3 separate regions of the Homo sapiens genome follow, and regions 1 and 3 are each linked to region 2. The links are contacts of gene promoters, found by promoter capture Hi-C in human tissues and cell types (Jung and others, 2019). All regions are on one chromosome and are shown on one strand. The core of a region is centred on a gene start or on the middle of the fragment in contact, and the rest is flanking DNA. Distances in the headings are between cores, read along the strand shown. Region 1 overlaps CSNK1G1 (casein kinase 1 gamma 1). Region 2 holds the start of CSNK1G1 (casein kinase 1 gamma 1). Region 3 overlaps CSNK1G1 (casein kinase 1 gamma 1).

Region 1 (3,771 bases), core at 78-2,577, 170 kb before region 2:
CTCCATTCTCTACTTTTAAACTTAATTGTACCAAAAACATACCTAAGACTTAAAGGCTACACATCTGGGCCTTCACAGCATCCGTTTAATTATTTCAGGTTGGAGGTCTGGTTTGTCAAACTACTGAACTGCAGGCAGTGGAACAAACACTGTGTAAGTGATGGAAGAGTTGGATTCTAGGCCTTGTTCTACCATTAACATCCTCTGTGAGCCCTATTTTCTAATTCCATAAGACAAGGCAAATGACCATGATCCTATCAACTTCATAAATATGAAGGGAATTAAATACAATGATGTTTAGAAAATAAATTTTAAAGAATTAAAAAGAATCTTATGAATAACAAATTACTGACATTTTAAACAATATTATCTTTATGTTTTTCTTTTTTTTTTTTTTGGAGATGGAATCTCGCTCTGTTGCCCAGGCTGCAGTGCAGTGGCGTGATCTTGGCTCACTGCAACCTCTACCTCCCGAGTTCAAGCGATTCTCCTGCCTCAGCCTCCCGAGTAGCTGGGACTACAGGTATGCACCACCACATCTGGCTAATTTTTGTATTTTTTAGTAGAAATGGGGTTTCACCATATTGGCCAGGCTGGTCTTGAACTCCTGACCCCAAGTGATCTGGCTGGTATTTTTTTTCTATTAAATTTTTAGTATAACTTTATGGCCGGGTGCAGTGGCTCACGCCTGTAATCCCAGCATTTTGGGAGGCCGAGGTGGGCGGATCACGAGGTCAGGAGATTAAGACCATCCTGACTAACACGGTGAAACTCCGTCTCTACTAAAAATACAAAAAATTAGCCGGGCATGGTGGCACACGTCTGTAGTCCCAGCTACTCGGGAGGCTGAGGCAGGAGAATGGTGTGAACCTGGGAGGCGTAGCTTGCAGTGAGCAGAGATCATGCCACTGCACTCCAGCCTGGGTGACAGAGCGAGACTTCGTCTCAAAAAATAAATAAATAAATAAATAAATTTTTAGTATAATGTCATTATAAAAGATAATAAAAAATAAGCTTCATTATAAAAAGCTTTATTTGCGGCCAGGCACGGTGGCTCGTGCCTGTAATCCTAGCACTTTGGGAGGCCGAGACAGGTGGATTGCCTGAGCTCAGCAGTTCGAGACCAGCCTGGACAACATGGTGAAACCCCGTCTCTATTAAAATACAAAAAATCAGCTGGGCGTGGTGGCGGGCGCCTGTAATCCCAGCTACTCAGGAGGCTGAGGCACAAGAATTGCTTGAACCTGGGAGGCGGACGTTGTAGTGAGCCAAGATCATGCCACTGCACCCCAGCCTGGACAACAATGCGAAACTCTGTCTCAAAAAAAAAAAAAAAAAAGATTTGCATACTTCAAATAGACATTTATTTTGCTTTAATCACTATTAAAATTAATCGCTCATTACTCTGGCTATACCAAACAAGACCAATTAATATCTTAAAGCATTACTCATGAGAAAGACTAAGATGAAGGACTGTTTTGACGTTCAGACCTGGTAATATCCCTTTTAGGAGTCTCAATAATTTGGGTTATTAGTTTCATTTCTCAAAATGTCACTGTGAGGAGAAATCAGAGCTGTGTACCAAAGGAAACAGTACTTCAACTCATGTGTCATTCTAAGTCTTATGTCCTTACTTGGTCCTGAACATTTCTAAAAGCTCCCTAAACATTTTAATTCAGACAACTTTAGAGGAATCTTTTTGAAAGGGAAAATATATTATCTTCTTGCATTTAGGCCTTCCACACATAAAAGATCTGTGGAAATACTGGAAGGATGAGAACCATGGGGGTCTGCCCATTAAATATGTTGGAACAGGAGCCTTCATGTGCCTTATCAGAGCAAACTTTTCTTGTCTTAGATTCTGCACTCCCTCCCAGGGTCATGGTGTCTGCAAGTCACCCAGGTTAGGCCAAACATGATTTTACTACATTACCTCTGGCAAGTGAGACAACTCAGAAATATGTGGACATCTGTTGTGTTAGGAAAGTATTGTTAATCTGGTTTGCAAAAGGTATGCTAAAAACAGTGTCAGCCCAAAGAGGCCAAAGTAATGAGGAGCAGCAGAGCTGAACATAGTATTAGGTAAATGGTGTAACTGCCTGTCCTCTATCTAAGTGCCAAGGAAGCTGGTAAAACTTAGTTTATAGGGAGTAGAGGAAGTTGCATGTTTCAAAAGAGTTGCCAAAGACACCTCAGTTGGATCCATTTCTAAAGGACACTTTACGAGGCCAGGCACGGTGGCTCACATCTGTAATCCCAGGACTTTGCGAGGCCAAGGCAGGTGGATCACTTGAGGTCAGGAGTTTGAGACCAGCCTGGATGACATGGCAAAAACCCATCTCTACTAAATATCCAAAAATTAGCTGGGTGTGGTGGCACGTGCCTGTAATCCCAGCTGCTCTAGAGGCTGACAGGAGAATCGCTTGAACCCGGGAAACAGCAGTTGCAGTAAGCCAAGATCGCGCTACTGCACTCCAGCCTGGATGACAGAGCCAGACTCCATCTCGAAAAAAAAAAAAAAAAAGAGAGAAAAAGAAATATGCTTATTTTGTAATTATAAAAAGACAAGGATAAACCATAATGTTAAAAAGGAAAATACCAAAGAGCTGCTCTTGCAGCTCTGTTTTGAACAAGCTGCTCTCTTCTATTGGTGTACAGATCCCAGGATCTCCTAACTTTATTATTATATTAGGGATTCCCTTTGTTTCTTTCCTGTGCTGGATCTCTGGTTTCCTGGATCCCAGATATTCCTTTCTTTTTATTTTTTTTGAGATAGAGTCTTGTTGTGTCGCCCAGGCTGGAGTGCAGGGGCGCAATCTCAGCTCACTGCAACTTCTGCCTCCCGAGTTTAAGTGATTCTCCTGCCTCAGCCTCCCAAGTAGCTGGGACTACAGGTACCCACCACCACGCCCAGCTAATTTTTTAAAATTACTTTTTAGTAGAGATGGAGTTTCACCATAGTGGCCAGGCTGGTCTTGAACTCCTGACCTTGTGATCTGCTCACCTCGGCCTCCCAAAGTGCTGGGATTACAGGCATGAGCTATTGCACACAGCTGCTACTCTCTTGTTCTATTAATTCTGATAACACACATCCTCATGTGGCTTCACAAGAAAGTGTGCCTGAGAAATAAAATTGAGTTTTTTGTTTTGTTTTGTTTTGTTTTGTTTTAAAGAGACAGGGTCTTGCTCTGTCACCCAGGCTGAAATGCAGTGGTACGATCATGGCTCACTGCAGCCTCAAACTCCTGGGCTCAAGCGATCCTCCCGCCTAAGCCTTCCTGGCAGCCAGGACTATAGGCACATAGCACCACACCTAGCCAATTTTTCTGTTTTGTGTAGAGACAATATCTTGCTATATTGCCAGGATGGTCAAGAACTCCTGGCCTCAAGTGATCCTCCTGCCTAGGCTTCTCAAAATGCTGGAATTATCGGTGTTAGCCACTGTGCCTGGCTCCTAAGAGCAATGATTTTTTTCTCTTTTTTTTTGAGACGGAATCTCAGTCCATCACCCAGGCTGGAGTGCAATGGCGTGATCTCGGCTCACTGCAACCTCTGCCTCCCAGGTTCAAGCGTTCTCCTGCCTCAGCCTCCTGAGTAGCTGGAACTATAGGCATGCGCCACCATGCCCAGCTAATTTTTGTATTTTTAGTAGAGACGGGGTTTCACCATGTTGGCCAGGATGGTCTCAATCACTTGACCTTGTGATCTGCCCACCTTGGGCTCCCAAAGTGCTGGGATTATAGGTGCGAGCCACCACGCCTGGCCATCCTA
Region 2 (3,670 bases), core at 203-2,702:
TGGTTCCGTTTAAAATGGGATGTTACTTATAATACAGGTAAGAATTTTAACTCATACTACTTATGAAGAAACAAAAGCTCTGGTAGGTTCCATGACTTGCCCAAGGTCAGTAACTAGCAACTGGCATAGTCTAGGTTCAACCCAAGATTTATCTGCCTGAAAGTCAATACTTCCACTTGACCGCAATTATCTCCTTAAAAGATTAAGACACAGGCTCAACAGCAGAACATTCATTCTCTCTCTGAAAATTCACATATCTGTTCTGAGACATCACTACACAGCACCTAGTATTCAGTCACTGATTGAAACAAAAATGAAGAGGATCTTTCTACTTCATTTAAATTAGGACAGGTTTACTGGCAGGTAAGAAAGAGGCTGCAAAAGCCTTGCCTCAACATGTCTTGCCTAGACCTGTGATACATCTATATGGTTTCCCCAGTCCATTCTTTTTAAATAAACACGTACATCTACTACACAAGACTACACCTGGACTAGCCTATTGTTAAATGCTTTTCAGAATTCCACTTTTCTAAGGTAATTTATACCGGAATTAATATCGAGCTGGGAGACTTGGTTGAATATGTCATTCAGGCACTTTCCAAACATCTTAAGTGTCATTTAGGGGCAACAAACCCAGTTCCACTCTCTTTTACATTGTGATGCCTGCCCACTTGGGGGACATTGCTCCTGTAGGACGTGGGGGCGAGGAAACAGTAAAGGAAGAAGTGGGGGAAGCGTACGGAAGTTGGGTAGAGGAAAGTCTCATTACCCACTCTTGTGCCCTAAGCTCCGCCAAGGGCGGCTCCCCGCGGTACCCAGTCGACTCAGAACCCCCACAACCTTCGAAGTCCAGCTCTGTCCCAGCGGGGTGGGTAGGGAAAGAGGGCAATGGAAGCACGGGATAGCCCCAGTCACCCTGACGAGATCTGTGCCCTCCTTTTGGCTCCCGGGGGATGCTCCCCCTTTCAGAGTAAGCCCTCCAGGTGGCAAACTCCCGGTCCACACCGGCTAGAGTCAGTTTCTCGGAAGGGGCGCCTCCTCCGCCTACCTCTACCCCGCTAACCGAAACTCTCCACCCGCTGTGTCCCTCAGCCCCTCCATTCCGCCCCCGCAACCCTCCACAGACACAAACGCCAGCCTGCGCCCCACCCGGGATCACGGCGTCCCCCACCCACGCCCAGGAAAGGGCCCCCCACCAACCCCCTCAGACACACACACACCCCCTCAGACTTCAGCCTACAGAACCCCGACGAAGCCGGGCAGATACCTGGTCCAGCAGTGCTGCAAGGCGCAAATGAGGCGGGCGCGGTCCCCTCCCCGAGGCGCCAAGTGCTTCTCTACCCACCCGCAGCGGTGGTTTCTCTCTTTCCCAGGAGCGGGAGGGAGGGGAGAAGGCGGACGGGAGGGGGAAGGCGAGGAGCCGAGGGGCGGCTGGAGCCGAACCGGAACCACTAGCGCGGCCCCGCCCTCGTCCCGGAGTCGCAGAGTACCCTGGCGGGCCTAATAGGACAAACTTTGGGCAGGCAGCGTTAAACTGACACCATCACTTCCGGGTTATCCCCACGGCTGCCCCCTCCTTAGCAACCGCGTGGGGTTGCTAAGCGGAAGTGCCTTCAAAGCAACCCACCCCCATTTCTTCTGGGACTACCAGAAGATATATCGGGAGCACTGAGCTCTGCTTTGGCAACACGCTCTTACCTTCTGCTCAAGATCTTAGACCAAGTACACGCTTCGCTGCCAGAGGCACGAAACCCATCCCGCTTTTCCCTTCAACTGTACTCCTCCACCAAGCCCCCGTCTCTATATACTCCTGCTCCCTCCCACCCTTAATCCCGTGGCTGACCCAGTGGCTGTTCCTAAGGCTCCAGGCTCCTCTCTCAGGTCCCTCGAGGGAATTATTTTCTGACGGTTTAGCAAGCATCTCCCTCTTGTGGATTTTTAATTGTGTTTCAACCAGATTTTTAAAATTTCTTTCAATGTTGTGAAAGGTTTTTCATGCACTTAGTTCTCCTGTGACAGCCCATGAAGCCGAATGGTTAGAAAAATGTTGTCTTCACCTACATTTTGTAAGAGCTGCACATGTTTGTGTAAGGTCTGGAATTAACCTAGCCAAATGGAATAGGCAAAAAAGATTCAATGTAACTCGACAGTTATTTTAATCCTTAAAACAGAGAGCAGGGCACATGTTCTCAGGACCTCTTGAGACTGCGCCTCGGGGGCGGGGTGGTGGTGGAAAAAAGACAGAAAACAAAGAAAAAGGCTAAAGGGAGCCCATAATCAAATTTGGGAAGGAAGAAGACTGTCTAATCCTCCACTCAAAACTCAAAATATGCCGGGTGCGGTGGCTCACACCTGTAATCCCAACACTTTGGGAAGCCGAGACTGGCGGATCACGAGGTCAGGAGATGGAGACCATCCTGGCCAACATGGTGAAACTCCGTCTCTACTAAAAATACAAAAATTGGCCGGGCGCGGTGGCTCGCGCCTGTAGTCCTCCTGTAAGCACTTTGGGAGGCCGAGGCGGGCAGATCACGAGGTCAGGAGATGGAGACCATCCTGGCCAACATGGTGAAACCCCGTCTCTACTAAAATACAAAAAATTGGCTGGGGGTGGTGGCACGTGCCTGTAGTCCCAGTTACACGGGAGGCTGAAGCAGGGGAATTGCTTGAACCCGGGAGGCGGAGATTGCAGTGAGCCGAGATCGTGCCATTGCACTCCAATGGCACTCCAGCCTGATGACAGAGCGAGACTCCGTCTCAAAAATAATAATAAATAAATAAACAAACAAACAAAAATTAGCTGGGCGTGGTGGCGTGTGCCTGTAGTCCCAGCTACTCGGGAGACTGAGGCAGGAGAATCGCGGGAACCCGGGAGGCGGAGGTTGCAGTGAGCCGAGACCGCGCCACTGCCCTGCAGCATGGAGACAGAGCTAGACTCCGTCTAAAAAAAAAAAAAAAAACCTTCAAAATAAACTTTCATACCGACACTATGGATAAGAAAAGAGACCTCATTTATTGTGTCTGGGTGATTTGGGGTTTGAAAATATTGGGAAAATGAATGGTTGGGGTAAAAGTTAACAAAGTAATACTCGAAAAAAACAACTCGTATCTGGAGGCTGGGTGCGGTGGCTCACGCCTGTAATCTCAGCACTTTGGGAAGCCGAGGCCTGAGGATCACCTGAGGTAAGGAGTTCGAGACCAGCCTGGCCAAACTGGTGAAACCCTGTCTCTATTAAAAATAGAAAAATTAGCTGGGCGTGGTGGTGGGCACCTGTGATCCCACCTACTCGGGAGGCTGAGGCATGAGAATCATTTGAACCCAGAAGGCAGACGTTGCAGTGAGCCGAGATTGCGCCATTGCACTCCAGCCTGGGCAACAGAGCGAGACTCCGTTTCAGAAAAAAGAAAAAAAAAAAAAAAAGGAAAAGAACCCATATCGTTATGGCAGGTAAAATATTCAGAGAAATGCAGTTGGGCATTCAGAGAAAAATGAGTAAAAATCTTCATTTGGTTTTCCTATCTTAAATAGGTCTTCTTACAAGCAGAATGCTTAACAGTAGCTCCTAAATTTGTTTTCTATTCCATGGCAGTGAATATACTTGCCACGGCAGGCTCTAATTTTATTGGTCATGATAACCTCTTTATAGACACCAAAATTGAACTGTTATCC
Region 3 (3,849 bases), core at 1,350-3,849, 140 kb before region 2:
TGTAATCCCAGCACTTTGGGAGGCCGAGGCAGGCAGATCACTTAAGGCCAGGAGTTCAAGACCAGCCTGGCCAACATGGTGAAATCCCGTCTCTATTAAAAGGACAAAAATTAGCCAGGTGTGGTGATGCATGCCTGTAATCCCAGCTACTCGGGAGGCTGAGGCAGGAGAATTGCTTGAACCCGCGAGGCAGAGGTTGCAGTGAGCCGAAATCGTGCCACTGCACTCCAGCCTGGGTGATAGAGCGAGACTACATCTCAAAAAAATAAATAAAATAAAATACATCTTAGTGTGCAATAGTTCACTAATATTTAAGAATATTTTATAATTATTTCTGCCTAGGAGTATGGAATCTGAGAATATTCTGCTTGTCTACTCTCTAGAATGTTGATTTTCAAACATGTTTTTTTCAATCACCTAGGAGTCTTTTCTTCAAATAGAATCTTCCATGGAAGCCCAATATATGAAACATAAAAAAGGGAGGCTTTTTTGAAGTGGATAAGCCTAGGGCTCTGCCTGCTTGGTCTCCCCACTGTTCCTTAGGCTTCTCTGACAAATACTCTCCCCCTTGGGCTAGTTCCTCACAGGTAAGGTCTTCTGCCTTGATTAGAGCATTTAACAATATTTGTGCAGGTTGTTTATCCTGAGTAAATTGCAAGACTAATGGTAAACCAAGTATATTTTCACTGAATAAGACAGAAGCTCTTCCTTGAAGACTTCTGTGCAGAACTATGTGCAGTGAACAGAAGTCTACTCCATTTTTAGTGAGGCACTCTTCCCCACCGCTGACCCAGCCTGATGTCCTCTTCAGGACTATCATATATAGGGTCATACATAAGTAAATACCAAATTCATTACTAAACTCATTAAAATGCTATCCTCTTTTTACAATAATTCAAGTACTCACACTGCTCAGAAACTAAACATTTGGAAACAGTGTAAAGAATTAAGAACCTATGCATAGTCTATAGGATTCTTTGAAAAGTCATTAACTTACCATCTCAACTTCTCATGTATAAAAATCACTCAACCTTGTGAAACAATAAAAACCACAAGTTGTAATGCACAATGGGGATATAATGTTACAGAAATAATAAACTGTTCTAATGACTCGCCCCTTTCATGGAACAGAAAAAAACACACCTTTGCCAAGATGCGTGTTGATAGACATATATCTTGCAGTTCCAGTTAAACTTTTGTGTTCCCTATAAGGTATGTGTTTTTTGGTTTCGGGGTCAATGTATTCCTTGGCCAGTCCAAAGTCTATAATGTGTATAACATGCTCTTTCTTATTGCCTTGTCGACCAATCAGGAAGTTCTCTGGCTTGACATCTCGGTAAATGAGGTTCTTTGAGTGCACGTATTCCATTCGAGAAAGCTGAAAGAGAAACAAATGATAGAAAGACTGTAAAGAAGTATATCAGGAAAATACATCAAAACAGTTTCTTTAGCCAGACCAAGGTTTTAATTATTGAAATAACAGTAAAATTCATCTCCTTTCACCGCCCTGAGTCACTTCACTGACTTGTAAACAAAAAAATATTTTGCTATAAATACGTACACAACAAATATCAAGACTAGGAAAAAAAGTGGGATAGTACAGGTCTGCTAAAATGATAGCTCAATTTTACCTCATAATGTCACAATTTGCAAATGACAAATGAAATCAGTTGTTTATATGCTACGTCAGAAAATTAAGCATTTGAGACAAAAGAAGTATTCCCAGGTAGGATATCAAACTGTTGGTGACCTTTGAGACAAATGCCACTGCTACATTCACCTTCTGCCCACATCTTCTTATGCTTATTTGGACAAGACTACCCAACCCAGTTTTCGATGTTGTGAGGCCCAGAGAAGTTAATACTGGCCTGACATCACATAGCTAATTAGCAGCAGAGACAGGGAAACAGTTCATTATTATTATTATTATTTTTGAGACGGAGTCTTGCTCTGTCACCCAGGGTGGAGTGCAGCCTCAGCCTCCTGGGTTCTAGCAATTCTCGTGCCTCAGCCTCCCGGGTAGCTGGGATTACATGCACATGCCACCATGCCTGGCTAATTTTTGTATTTTTAGTAGAGACAGGGTTTCACCATGTTGGCCACACTGGTCTCAAACTCCTGACCTTGGGTGATCCGTCCTCCTCGGCCTCCCAAAATGCTAGGATTACAGGCATGAGCCACCATGCCTGGCCGAAACAGTTCATCGTTGTTGTTTTAAATTTATTTTCAGATTATTTTTGTAGAGATGGGGTCTATGTTGCCTACGCTGGTCTCAAACTCCTGGCCTCAAGTGACCCTCCCACCTCAGCCTCACAAAGTGCTGGGATTATAGACACGAGCCACCATGCCTGGCCAGGGCTATAGTTTTTATGTTAAGTTAAATATAACCAAAAATAATAATCATAAAAGCATTTCAAATTTTATTAAGTATTTCTATCTACTAAGCTTTTCTACTAACTTTTTTTTTTTTTTTTTTTTTTTTTTGAGATGGAGTCTTGCTCTGTCGCCCAGGCTGGAGTGCAGTGGCACGATCTCGGCTCACTGCAAGCTCCACCTCCTGGGTTCACGCCATTCTCCTGCCTCAGCCTCCTGAGTAGCTGGGACTAAAGGCGCTCGCCACCACGCCCAGCTAATTTTTTGTATTTTTAGTAGAGATGGGGTTTCACTGCGTTAGCCAGGATGGTCTCGATCTCCTGACCTCATGATCCGCCCACCTTGGCCTCCCAAAGTGCTGGGATTACAGGCGTGAGCCACCATTCCCAGCCCTTTTCTACTAACTTTTAGTAGAGAAAGAGAAGCTCAGATATTTGAATTTGGGGCTCAAAAGTCAAAGTCAATTATCTAACATTTCCAAATTTTTATAGGACAGTGGGAGAGACCATTACCATTTTAAACAAATGAAGATATATTTGCATCCTTCCCCAAAGGGCTTGTGACAAACTTCTCAAAGGAACTGTTGGAACTGCTTCTTAAACTGGTATTTGTGTATAATTTGGTAGGAGCTACAAGAGCTGCCTCTTCAGCTGAAATTTGTCTCTGAGAGAACTGGAGGCCTGAGAACTACAGCAAATTCCTAGTCACACAATTTTGAATCTGAGTGTTAGTGCAATGGGTTATAACATCAATCTTTTCTTGGTTGCAACAGTGAAGGGAGAGATAGGACATGACAAAACCTTACAGCTATATTTAAAACACATAAATAGGCTGGGTGCAGTGGTTCATGCCTGTAATCCTAGCACATTGGGAGGCCGAGGTGGGAGGACTGCTTGAGACCAGTTTAGACAAGCCTGGGCAACATAGTGGGAGTCTGTCTCCAAAACACTTTTTTTTTTTTAAATGAGCTGGCATGGCACCTGCAGTCCTAGCTGCTGGAGAGGCTGAGGCAGGAGAATCACTTGAGCCTAGGAGTTTGAGGTTGCACTGAGCTATGATCATGCTACTGTACTCTAGCCTGGGTGACAGAGACCCTGTCTCAAAAATGAAAAACAAAACAAAACAAAATCAAATAAATTATTCACATTTTTACAACTCCATCTAATCGACCTCTTTCTCCCTAATCTAAATTATATACTTCCTCTTCAGTTAAGGGCAGAGCATTGCTCCAAGGTGCAAAGTCTTAAAATAGAGCAAATTGCAGATGTAGTGTGACTTCTCTGAATTTACCCTTTTTGCCCCAGCCAGCTTCCCAGAATGCCATCAAGCCTGTGAGTACTAATTCTTGATGTGTTGCTACGGCTAGTAAATCACCAAAAGGCCCACAAGGATGTGGCTGAGGAACCAGCTTATTCTCTTCTAGAAGAGCAATTCCAACTTACCAGCTGGATGGCTATCATTAACACCGTCTTCAAA

What was found. The method cuts DNA at HindIII sites, captures the fragments that hold promoters and counts their contacts. A contact is called where the count stands out against the background at its distance.
Region 1: a fragment that was not itself captured here is called in contact with the fragment with the promoter of CSNK1G1 in region 2 in 1 of the 25 tissues and cell types used here (aorta).
Region 3: a contact is called between a fragment that was not itself captured here and the fragment with the promoter of CSNK1G1 in region 2, in 1 of the 25 tissues and cell types used here (dorsolateral prefrontal cortex).

The regions. Positions count from the first base shown.
Region 1 is chr15:64,183,356-64,187,126 of GRCh38, forward strand. The region is part of intron 10 of CSNK1G1 (casein kinase 1 gamma 1); the gene reads right to left. Among named protein-coding and RNA genes, the nearest start is that of PPIB, 22 kb to the left of the region's middle. The HindIII fragment of the contact is 3,297 bases long and covers 1-2,976 here.
Region 2 is chr15:64,354,721-64,358,390 of GRCh38, forward strand. It overlaps CSNK1G1 (casein kinase 1 gamma 1), which reads right to left and starts at 1,453. Exons shown (of 12, transcript NM_022048.5): 1 at 1,268-1,453. RefSeq lists silencers at 719-778, 1,169-1,228, 1,339-1,388. The HindIII fragment of the contact is 13,823 bases long and covers 1-3,670 here.
Region 3 is chr15:64,212,747-64,216,595 of GRCh38, forward strand. CSNK1G1 (casein kinase 1 gamma 1) reads right to left here. Exons shown (of 12, transcript NM_022048.5): 5 at 3,816-3,849; 6 at 1,144-1,378. Among named protein-coding and RNA genes, the nearest start is that of PPIB, 52 kb to the left of the region's middle. The HindIII fragment of the contact is 4,787 bases long and covers 207-3,849 here.